3 separate regions of the Homo sapiens genome follow, and regions 1 and 2 are each linked to region 3. Evidence: promoter capture Hi-C in 16 types of primary human blood cells and fetal thymus (Javierre and others, 2016). All regions are on one chromosome and are shown on one strand. The core of a region is centred on a gene start or on the middle of the fragment in contact, and the rest is flanking DNA. Distances in the headings are between cores, read along the strand shown.

The links. The method cuts DNA at HindIII sites, captures the fragments that hold promoters and counts their contacts. A CHiCAGO score of 5 or more calls a contact.
Region 1: a contact is called between the fragment with the promoter of ATG2A here and the fragment with the promoter of ZNHIT2 in region 3, in 1 of 17 cell types (endothelial precursors). The highest score is 5.8, in endothelial precursors.
Region 2: a fragment that was not itself captured here is called in contact with the fragment with the promoter of ZNHIT2 in region 3 in 1 of 17 cell types (M0 macrophages); the score reaches 6.4 in M0 macrophages.

Annotation. Positions count from the first base shown.
Region 1 is chr11:64,915,338-64,918,980 of GRCh38, forward strand. It overlaps ATG2A (autophagy related 2A), which reads right to left and starts at 1,872. Exons shown (of 41, transcript NM_015104.3): 1 at 1,628-1,872. The coding sequence starts at 1,798. It also overlaps a transcript of PPP2R5B not described here. RefSeq lists a silencer at 1,784-2,093 and an enhancer at 2,144-2,273. The HindIII fragment of the contact is 25,686 bases long and covers 1-3,643 here.
Region 2 is chr11:64,894,859-64,898,409 of GRCh38, forward strand. It overlaps ATG2A (autophagy related 2A), which reads right to left. Exons shown (of 41, transcript NM_015104.3): 33 at 3,403-3,504; 34 at 3,228-3,312; 35 at 2,981-3,116; 36 at 2,813-2,885; 37 at 2,554-2,636; 38 at 1,890-2,011; 39 at 1,604-1,758; 40 at 432-584; 41 at 1-351. The coding sequence ends at 115. MIR6750 (microRNA 6750) reads right to left here; the gene lies at 3,505-3,551. Among named protein-coding and RNA genes, the nearest start is that of MIR6750, 1.8 kb to the right of the region's middle. The HindIII fragment of the contact is 4,812 bases long and covers 1-3,551 here.
Region 3 is chr11:65,116,386-65,120,042 of GRCh38, forward strand. ZNHIT2 (zinc finger HIT-type containing 2) reads right to left here and starts at 1,316. Exons shown (of 1, transcript NM_014205.4): 1 at 18-1,316. The coding sequence starts at 1,268. The coding sequence ends at 57. RefSeq lists enhancers at 1-189, 736-1,279, 1,272-1,566. The HindIII fragment of the contact is 3,565 bases long and covers 1-1,385 here.

The DNA.
Region 1 (3,643 bases), core at 622-3,121, 200 kb before region 3:
ATAAAAAAGCACATGGCAGAGCAGATGGGAGTCCAAATTCCTCACCCAGAGACCCACAGCTCGGGAAACTGAGGCCTAGAGACAGGACTAATCTAGTCACCCAGTATACAACAGGGACTGAGACTGGGATGCGGGCCTCTTTCTTTTCATGCCACTTCAGAGGCCCCAGATACTCAGTTTCTTTGGGGGCCTTCAAGGCGGGGCCTGCAGGCTGAGCTGGGAGGGAGGAGGGGCTGGTTATCAAGAAAGCGCCTGCATTCCACCAGGGCCCTAGAGAAGCCAATTCAATCCCCAACAAGAGGGCAGGGAACAGGAGTAGGGGCGTTTTCTGGAGCTGAAAGTAAAAAGGGGAAGCCTAGGGCTGGGTATGGTGGTTCATGCCTATAATCTCAGCACTTTGGGAGGCTGAGGTGGGAGGATCCCTTCAGGGGTTCAAGGCTAGCCTGGGCAACATAGCGAAATCCTGTCTCTATAAAAATAAAAAAGGGGCAGCCTAGAGACGGCCTTAGAGGCTGAGGCTAAGGTTAGAGGTCAGAGAGGGCTTCCTACACCAGAATTCACAGACAGCAGGCCACTGGGGGGTGCCCCCAGTTCAGGGCCCACGATTATCCTACCCCACATTTGCTCACCAGGGCCTGGCCTACCCCCAAAGCCTAGCTCTTCTGCCCAGATTAGCAGCCCCCTGAGTCCAGCCACAAAACTGAGAAGTCCCTGCCTCCATGCCCACCCCTGCTGCTCTGGACCTGGTGGATCGACCAGGACGCGCCTCTAATTGGTGGCTCCTTCAAAGCTCCCCAGGTCAGCTGAGCTGTGAGTCAGGGCTCCTCACCGTTCCCAGCCTCAAGCCTCTGACCTTACACCTCTTGGCCTCCCTAGCATCTCCCTTGGCCTCCTCCCGGCTTGAAGCCAGATCTCCCCACCTTTCCTCCAGGGCCTCCCTCCAGGCAGGGACACTGAGCCGGGGGGGTCGGTGGGAGATGTAGGTGGGGGCCATCCAGTCCCTCCCTAGACACCCACTTGGCCCATCCCACTCTCCCAAAAGCAGGAAGTAGGCAGCGACCCAGGCACACGAGGTGTTGATCAACACTGGTACTGACGTACTGACGCGGTTGTTGACATACACATCCGGTGGTTTGTTGATCCCACCTACGGGCTCAGGACCGTGGGGTCAAGAGGTCAGGGCACATGATCCACAGGTGTCCTCGCCAGGGCTCCGGACCCCTACCAGCTTCCCCCACCAGCTGCGCAGGCCCAAGTCTGTCACTGCCCTGGCCCAGCTCAGTTCCTACGCTCCCTCCCCAGCCCCTCCTCAGCCCGAGAGCCAACCTCCTTAACTCAGCCCCCAAACTCGACGAGTTTGTCTTGCATTCTCCAGACAGGTGATCTTGCCCTCTCCAGCCTCAGTTTCTCCTCCCGTGGAGACAGAAACCCCTTCCCGCTCAGTTTCTGGCTCTGGTAAGGAACTGAAGAGGCCAGCCGGGGTGCCTCTGACGCCTGGAGAGGGCAAGATTCCCCTGGCCTCTCTACGCCCGGTGCCTGATCCCCCAGCCCGATCCTGCCGCAGGGAGCCTCAGGTCGCTGCGCTCCCACCCTCCGCACCTTCCTGGACTCGGGCCTGGCTCCTCACCCAGATTTCCAGGTGGATGTCTCGCAGGGCAACGCTGCCCTTGTACAGATCGAGGCTGAGCTGGTCCAGGCTGAGGTGCTCTTGGAAGAAGTGACCTAAGTAGTGGTGCAGCAAGTAGCGGCAGACCCGCTCTTTCACACAGTTTGACCATGGCCACAGCCATCGTGACATCTCGGAGACCGCCGGGCCTGGGCCGCCTCCGCTTGCCGCCCGCCGGCGATCCCCGTCCGGCTCCGCTGTTCACTAGAGCCCCCGGCTCGCCCCGCCGCTTCTCTAGGCGCCAGGCCGCGCCTCCGGACGCCCAGCCACGCCCCCTACGCTCACTGTCATTGGCTATTGCAAAGGGCGAGGCCTACTGATTGGCTGCGCGGGGCGGAGCCTTCGGGCGCGAAAAAGGGACTGGGCTCTCTGCATGATATAGGGCTCTCAATCATGATTTACGCTTGCGTAAAGTACTGTGTGGGAGGACCTTTAACCTCCCCTCTACAGGCTCTGGGAAGGCTGTTGCTCCAGGTGCCGGCCCCTCAAAGGAATGCGCATGTGCTGATTCGTCCAACCACTTTAAGTGGTTGGGGAGGATTTAAAGGGACAGTGTCCCATCAAACTTCGTAGAAGCCTTCCCCAGAGGAGTAAACTCAGTGCGCGATCTTAAGCGCGCATCTGTGGAAACAATTAAGTGAGTAAACATTCGCATTTTGCAAAATCTTTTACCATCCTTTATCTCATTGAGCCCTCTTAATAATCGCTCAAGGTAGGGATTATTGCCACCGCTTTACAGGTAAGAAAACAGATTAAGATACGAGAAAGACCCTGCCTCAAAAACAAACAAAAATAAATAAGGGCTCTGAATCCATCACCAAGGAAGGTCTTTTTTCCCCTCCTCACCCCGGAATGCTCAGAGGGAGATTAACTGACCCTCCCTTCTCTCTGCCGTCGGTCAGGCCTTAGGCACCTCTCTGAAATAATAATAGCTTTTCATATCTCTAGTCCTAAAATCAAAGAATGGATTCTGCCTCCTTTAAGCAGGGGGGCATTGTTTTTGTACGGCCTTTGAGCTAAGTATGGTTTTTATGTCTTTTAAATGGTTAGGGGAAAAATCAAAAGAAGAATGAACTTTTCATGGCATGTGAAAAATCATATGAAATTCACATTCCAGTGTTTATACATAACGTTTTAGTGTCACACAGTCTTGCTCATTTGCTTAAGTTCTGCCCCGGGCTGCTTTCTTGCTACAAGAGCAGAATTCAGTACTTGAGACAGAGGCCTGCAAAGCCTAAAATATTTATTTTCTGGCCCTTCACAGAAAAAGTTTGCCAACCGCTGCTCTGTAGGGGGCAGCCACACAAAACCTCTTACATCATGGGCGACTTCAGGAACAGCCATAGGTAATTATGTTTCTTTTCTTTTCTTTTTGAGACAGACTCTCTCTGTCACCTAGGCTGGAGTGCAGTGGCACAATCTTGGCTCACTGCAACCTCTGCCTCCTGGGTTCAAATGATTCTGCTGCCTTGGCCTCCCAGAGTAGCTGGGATTACAGGCATGCACCACCGCACCCAGCTAATTACCGTGTTGGGCAGGCTGGTCTCGAACTCCTGACCTTAGGTGATCAGCCTGCCTTGGCCTCCCAAAGTGTTGGGATTACAGGCACGAGCCACCGTGCCCGGCCTATGTTTCTATTTTATTTATTTTTTTTGAGACAGAGTCTTGCTCTGTTGCCCAGGCTGGAGTGCAGTGGTGCAGTCTCCTCTCACGCAACCTCTGGCTCCTGGGTTCAAGGAATTCCTGAGTAGCTGGGATTACAGGTGTGAGCTACCCCACCTAGCCTGTGTTTCTATTTTAATCTTACTTGGGAGCTGGACTCTTACATTCTAATGCCAAAACTCAGCCTGAAGCAAGGGCAACCGCCCTGGCCCACCGGGCAGGGACCTGTATTCCAGTCCCACCCATGGGTGGTTTCTTCTCCTCTTGTGACCCTCAGTTTTATCCTATGTAACTGGGGTTGGGTTAGTAAGTGGA
Region 2 (3,551 bases), core at 322-2,821, 220 kb before region 3:
CTTCACAGTGGCCATCCCCTGAAGGGCCAGGCCGGGCCGGGCCCGTGGGCTGCAGCTCTTGGGAGGCTCAGGAGCATGGTGGGCAGCACCCTCTGGGTGCCGGGCACCCCAGGCTCAGTCTTGGGCACTGTCCGAGCGCCACTTGAGGGCGTGGTCCTTGTGGGCGTCGGGGACAATCTGGTTGCGCATGCCCCCGAGCAGGCTGGACGTGGCCTCCGTGGCCAGGATGAGCGGCTTCACCACAGTCGGGGGCAGCTGGCGGATCACGCCCCCCACGGCGCCCGTCAGCCCCTTCTGCTCATGGCCCCGCGATGCCACGTCACAGATGGTCTGAGCTGTATCCAAGATGCCCTGTGGAAGCCAGAGGTCAGGGCGGGGTCTGTGTGAGGAGATGGGCATGGGGGACTGGGGCAGGGCGGGGGCCTGGTCACCTCTCGCACTGTGTCGTAGGCCTTGGCCACACCCTCCCGCAGGTCGGCAGGCTGCTGGCCCCTGCGCAGCCTCCGCGCAGAGCGCTTATCCTGCAGGGAGCGGGAGACGGGGGCTGCCGGGGACAGGATGTCATACACGGTCTCAGCTGTGGCCTGGGGGACATGGGAGCACTGGATGAGGACAGCTGGCTGGGGCACACGTCAGCCCCAGGCCCCCAGGACAGTCTGAGACCCCACCAGCCCTCAGCCTCCCTGCCTGTCACTGTGCTGGCCTAGGGGGTCCTGCTCAGCCTCACTCCCCACTTCCTCCCACTCTTCCTCCCCTTCCTAGGCACCTGCCACTCTGCTGAGGGAACCTAGGAACGTGGGACTCCTCAGGGGACTTTCCTAAAGTCTTCTCAACCCAAACCTCTCTTCCTGCTGACCACCACATTCAGCAGGTTCCACATGGCTGCCGCAGCTGCACGCCTGAGACTGACCGCTCCTTGCCTGGCCCCCCAGACGCCCCTGCCAGATGGTCAGAGGCCCATCCTTCCTTCTGTCTGCCAGATCCTCTGCCCAGCATCTCACCTGGCATCACTCTTTCCCACCTGACTGAACACTCCCGGGGGCTCCCTGGTGCCCATGCATCCCTCCCACCTCCCCTGGAGCCCTGCCCTCTGTCCTGTTGGGGTCTGAGCTTGCAGGTTCCAGAATGCACCATGCACCTGCACTCACCCCTTAGCCGCCTAGGACCATCGATCCCCTACAGAATTCATCTGACAACTGCCCACGAGACTGGCTCCCCAGCTTCCCTGGGGTCCTTCTGGCCTAGCGAAGCGTATGGCCTGAATGAACCAGGGCAGCCTCTGCGCCTCAGATTCTTAGTCTGCAAACACAGCCGTCCTCCACCCCCCTTTACAAGACATGCCATGAGCAGGAGACACAGTGGGCTCTGAAGGCCTGGGGGGCACTCCCGCTCCTGCATGGGAGCCCCTGTGGGCCTCGGGAGACCTGGCTTGGAGGTCCCAGGCAAGTCACTTAGCCTCTCCGTGGCTGTTTCTCTATAAAGTAGGGCTGTCATACCCAGACTGCCCACTCTGAGGAGCTTTGAGGACAGAACCAGGGAGCTGTGGTGCAGAGGGCTCCAGCTGCTCTGTCCTGCACAGCCCAGATACAGGGCACCCACTCACCTGGATAGCCTGTACCAACCGGTTGCTGAGTTCCAGGGCGGCAGAGGCTGTGGATGAGCCAAAGGAGGCAGCCCCTCGCTGCAGCCCCCGCATGAGGCGGCCATCCTTCCTGTACTGCTCAATGGGCAGCCACAGCAGGTCCCGGAACCCTTGGACTAGGGGGAAGGAGCGCTCAGAGACACCCGAGGCTGCCCTGCCCCCACCTCCTCCTCTTATTCCCAATGGCAGCTTCTAGGTTGCCCAAGGGTAAAAGCAGTTTCGAGGGCTTCCAAACCTAGACACTCACAGAGCTGGACAACCGAGTGCATGGGGCCCACGCCTCCCAGCAGGCCGGGCAGCTGGTTCTTGCGGATGTCCTGCAGCCACTCGTTGAGGGCATAGCCCAGCACCTTGTCCACACCCAGGAGCCTGGCAGGGCAGGGAGGTGAGGAGGCAGAAGGTGAGGCAGAGCCACACATGGAGGGATTGTGGGGTCAGGAGGACTCAGTACCCCTGTGGCAAGTACTGTGGGCACTCTACCCTCCCTGTGGTCCCACCCAGTCATGTGCAGAGGGACTGTGTCCTTTTTTTTTTTTTTTAGATGGAGTCTTGCTCCGTTGCCCAGGCTGGAGTGAAGTGGTGCGATCTTGGCTCACTGCAACCGCCTCCCAGGTTCAAGCAGTTCTCCTGCCTCAGCCTCCTGAGTAGCTGGGATTACATGTGTATGCCACCACGCCTGGCTAATTTTTGTATTTTTAGTAGAGACGGGGGGGTTTCACCATGTTGGTCAGGCTGGTCTCGAATGCCTGAATGTGTGAGCCATCATGCCCAGCCAACTGCGTCCTTTTTACAGAGGAGAAACTGAGGCCCTGAGAAGGGTGATGACTTGGCCAAGGCCACACAACCAGTCAGGACCAGAACAGAAGGAAGATCAGGGACCCTGGAGAGAGGCTGGGGTGCTGGGGACTCACCCGTGCCTGCAACAGAGCCGCTTTAGCTTCAGCTCGGAGCAGTTGAGTTGGGCCAGGCCGATGAGGAGGCCAGCAAAAGTGCCCTGGGAGAGGGAGGGGGTCCAGGTTTACCCAATGGGACTCAGGGAGCTAGCTAGCCCATGGGAGCCACTGGAGAGCGCCCTGGCTGCTAACAGTGCCTGGATGCAAGACCTGGCCCCCAGAGGGACTCAGCCACAGCTGACCCCACATGGCCACCCCATCCGACCGCCCCACTTACCACCTGGTCCATCGTGACGTGCTTGCCATGGTAATCCAGCCAGATGGGGACCTCAGACGTGAAGCGGAACTCTCTGGGTAGGGGAGCAGGAAGAGGGGGTTCTTTGCTCACTGGCCTGGCCCCCAGCAATCTGGCCCAGGGCCCCCCACCCGCAGTCCAGCAGCCTACCTGAAGTAGATGGGCTGCTGGTCAGGAGGGGAGGGGCTGTGTCCACCTCCTGGGGCCTCCTGCGAACCAGTGGTCTCTACGCCTTCGGCCTGCCCTTCCAGGGGGCTGCTGGGCTGGGCTCGAGTCTCGGGGCGAGCTAGGGGAGGGGAGGTCACAGACTGGGGATGGGGCCAGGAATGACTGGGAACCTGTGCTGTCCTGGGAGGCAGAAGGCCCAGACGCTCCCCTCCCTGGCCCAGCCTCTCACCCTCAGCGGAGGTCTCCCCTGGGACCACGGGGTTGATGCCGGCCACCAGACTAGTGAAGAAGTCCTTGAGGAAGAAGAGGGCATCCTGCAAGGGAGAGGTCCAGATGTGGATCAGACTCAGAGGCCTGGAGACAGTGGGGTCACCCTAGGCTCTGCCCTCACGTAGACCACTCACCTGGTCCACATTGAGCCGCAGGGGCATCAGCGAGACGCGGAGACAGCACTCAGGCCCACCCAGGTTGGTAGTGGGGGCCACATGCAGCGCTTTGATGGTGAGCTGGGAGCAGAGGGTGAGTTCTGGACACCTGCTGGGCCTCTGGGGCA
Region 3 (3,657 bases), core at 66-2,565:
GAAACAAGCAACAGGGCTGACCAGTCACAGCTTTATTAATGACCAGGGTAACCCGTTCAGCTAGGGAGCTCCTCAATGAGAGTTCTTGGGGCAGGTGGCACGGGGCCTCCCCAAAGCCGCTCCAGCTCCCCAGTGAGGGCGGCCACCTCCTCGGCTACCACAGCATGGGCTTGGTGAGCCCTGGCGCAGTCTAGGGCCAGGGGTGTGAGGGCCGCCTCATTTTCGTTGGTCCAGGCCAGGAGGAACTGGCACTTTTTCCGGGCCCGGTAAAGATGATCTCGCTCTTCTCTAGCCACGGCCTGTTTCCGGGCACGGCCCAGGGTCTGTGCCAGGTCCCCCAGTGCTGCCAGCGTGTAGCCTTTCTGGTTGGTCGGGCCCTCGCCCAGCAGGATGCGGGCGACCTCGTGCATAGCCCCTCGTGTGCCCAGGGGCCCCGGCGGGTGCTCGCCTGCTTCCAGCACGTGGGCTGCCGCCTGCAGGGCTTCTTCCGCAGAGGCGAAGACTTGCTGGGCACCCAGGGCTCCGGAAACGCCGAGCAGTGTGGCACAGAAGTCAGAGAGCAGCGCGTCGTCACCGCCGTGATACAGGGCGAGAGTATGCGCGTAGGCGAACAGCACATTGGGCAGCTGGAAGCGCACGAGCGGCGAGACTGGGCCGCGGCTCAGGCTGACTATCGCGGGGATGCGGGTGGGTACGACGGGCGTGCAGGCCCCCGGGACATCTCCAAGAACCCGCTCGGCGGCCGCGGGCTCCGCGGCGGAGGCATCTTTCACAGAATCCGGCGGGGTCCTCGCAGGGGCGAGCTCCAGCTCCGCGGCGTCACTACCCGGGGCATTATCCAGCTCCTCCAGAAGCTGCGGTCCGGCTCCGCGGTTCCACCACCACGGCCGCCATGGAGGCAGCAGCCGCCCGGCCTCACCGCGGCTCAGCAGCCGCTCGAAGGCAGCTTTTTCGCCCGGCGCCAGCCGCTCCCAGAGTCCCGATAGGCCGCCGGGCGCCGGGCCGGAGCTGAGGCCTGCTTCCCCAGGCTCGTCCTCGGTCTCGCGTTGCTGACGCAGCCGGCGTAGGGCGCTTGCTAGGCGGCTGGGAGGAGCGCTGCAACCGCGGAGCTCTCCCAGCACCTGGTCACGGTAGAAGTTTTCTGCGCAGGTGCCATGCGTCCGGTAGCAGCGCAGCGAGCAGTAGGGCGCATTACAGCGAGGGCAGGTGTAACGCGCTGGCTGGACCTCCCCCGCCGGGCAGAAGCCACAGGGCCCGGCCGGCTCCATGGCAACTGGCACCGCGATCTACCTGCGAACGCACGCCGGTGGTAGTTCGAAACTTCCGGGGCTTCTTCGATTACTTCCGGTTCGCAGCGCGGCCGACGGCGCGCTGTGTTTTCGCAAAGCTTCCGAGGATTCTCGGCAATTTCCGCCCACGCCCGAAAGCCAAGCCCCACCCCTTTCCCTAGTAGGGCGAGAGCAGGCCCAGAAGCCGGGCGTCAGGTACGAGCCCCGCCCTATGCGATGACGCAAGGAGCGAAAAAATGGGTCTGGCGAGCGCTTCGCCGGTGCCACGTCTCCCCCTAGTGGTCACACCAAAACGTGGCCCGATCATCTAAAGAGAAAACCCTCTTTTTAGCACTACAATGTGCTGTGGCATAAATCCATCTTTACTAGGCACCTACTCTGGGCCACTAATTGTGCCAAGCCTACGGGAGGCGATGCATCCCTGCGCTGGACACAGACAAATAAAATGCACTAGGGGACACAGACAAATAAAAGGACAGTTAGGGCCAGGTACGGTGGGTCACGCCGGTAATCCCAGCATTTTGGGAGGCCGAGGCGGGCAGATGACCTGAGGTCAGGAGTTTGAGACCAGCCTGACCAACATGGAGAAACCCCGTCTCTACTAAGAATACAAAATTAGCCGGGCGTGGGGGACGGGTGCTTGTAGTCCCAGCTACTCCTGAGGCTGAGGCAGGGGAATCGCTTGAACCCGGGAGGTGGAGGCTGCAGTTAGCCGAGATCGCGCCACCGCTCTCCAGCCTGCGAGCCTGGGCCACAGAGAGAAACTCCACCTCAAAAAGATAAATAGAAAGCAGCATTTAAGAAATATCTGAGCTCCTATGATTTTTTTCCTCCAAAACTGCCTCTTCTTTTCATTAAGTATCTTCTCATTAAATACCACTATTCATCCATCTTATTAAGTGCAGGCCCCATTCTAGGTGCCAAGAACACAATGCACATCAAAGGGAGCCGGGGGTCCCTGTTCTAATAGAGCTCACTCTTGTGGTGGAGTGGGGGGTGTGATGAACCAAACTGTGAGTGTTCTTTGCATCCCTGCTACTACTGGTGGTCTAAGCTTCCTGACCCCTCATGTGGATGACAACACATTAAGTGTTTTTCCTAACTTTCTTGCCAGCCCTCCAGAAAAACCTGCCAGAGAAATTAGATCACAAGTCAGATGAGATCCATCTGTTACTCAAAACCCTTCTGCGACCCTCCATTGCACTTGGACTCAAACCCAAACTCCTCTCTATGGCTGACAAGGCCTTGCAGGATCTGCCCGCCCCCAGCCCTAGACATCACCTCTTCCCCATCTTCACACAGTCCTCTAGGCTTGAAATATTCCCCTACCTGATCACTTGACTGGTTCATCTCAGGTCTCACTCACGTCATTTAAACAGGACCTCTCGGCTGGGCACAGCGGCTGACACCTGTAATCTCAGCACTTTGGGAGGCCAAGGTGGGCGGATCACTTGAGCCCAGTTCAAGACCAGCCTGGGCAACATAGCAAAACCCTGTCTCTACAAAAAAGTACAAAAAATTAGCCAGGTGTGGCGGTGCATGCCTGTAGTCCTCAGCTACTTTGGAGGCTGAGTAGGATCACCTGGGCCCAGGAGTTGGCGGCTGCAGTGAGCCATGATTGTGCAACTGCACTCCAGCCTGGATGAGAGAGACCTTGTCTCAAAAACAAAAAAGAAAAGGCCGGGCACTGTGGCTCATGGCTGTAATCCCAGTACTTTGGGAGGCCGAGGTGGGCGATCACGAGGTCAAGAGATCGAGACCATCCTGGCCAACATGGGGAAACCCCATGTCTACTAAAAATACAAAAATTAGCTGGGCGTGGTGGCACATGCCTGTAGTCCCAGCTACTCAGGGGGCTGAGGCAGGAGAATGGCGTGAACCCGGGAGGCTGAGGTTGCAGTGAGCTCGGATTGTGCCACTGCACTCCAGCCTGGCGACAGTGCGAGACTCTGTCTCAATAAAATAAAATAAAGAAAAAAGAAAAACAAAAAAAGAGGCCCTCTCTGGGATGCTATTGTATCTGTCCACATCCTCCCCCTTTCTAAACTGCTGGAAGGCAGAAACCATGTCTTTAACACCACAGAGACAAAAATAGCCAAGATTCACACACTCACTGTAAGCCAGATGTTGATTTACATCCTTTAACCCTCACAGCAGCCCTGGAGATGGCAGAGATTAAATTAGTAGTTAGTTCAAAGGCCAGCCACCCAGTAAATGGAGTAGGAAGAAAAAGAAGGTCCAAACTCAGGCAGTCAAAGTCCACAGCCCAAGGGCTTTACCCTGTTGGATGCTATTTCTCAAGAACTGGCAGGTCCAGAAACTTTAGCTGAATGAGTAAGTGGGGTTCAGAAGTGCTGGGAGGCTCAGT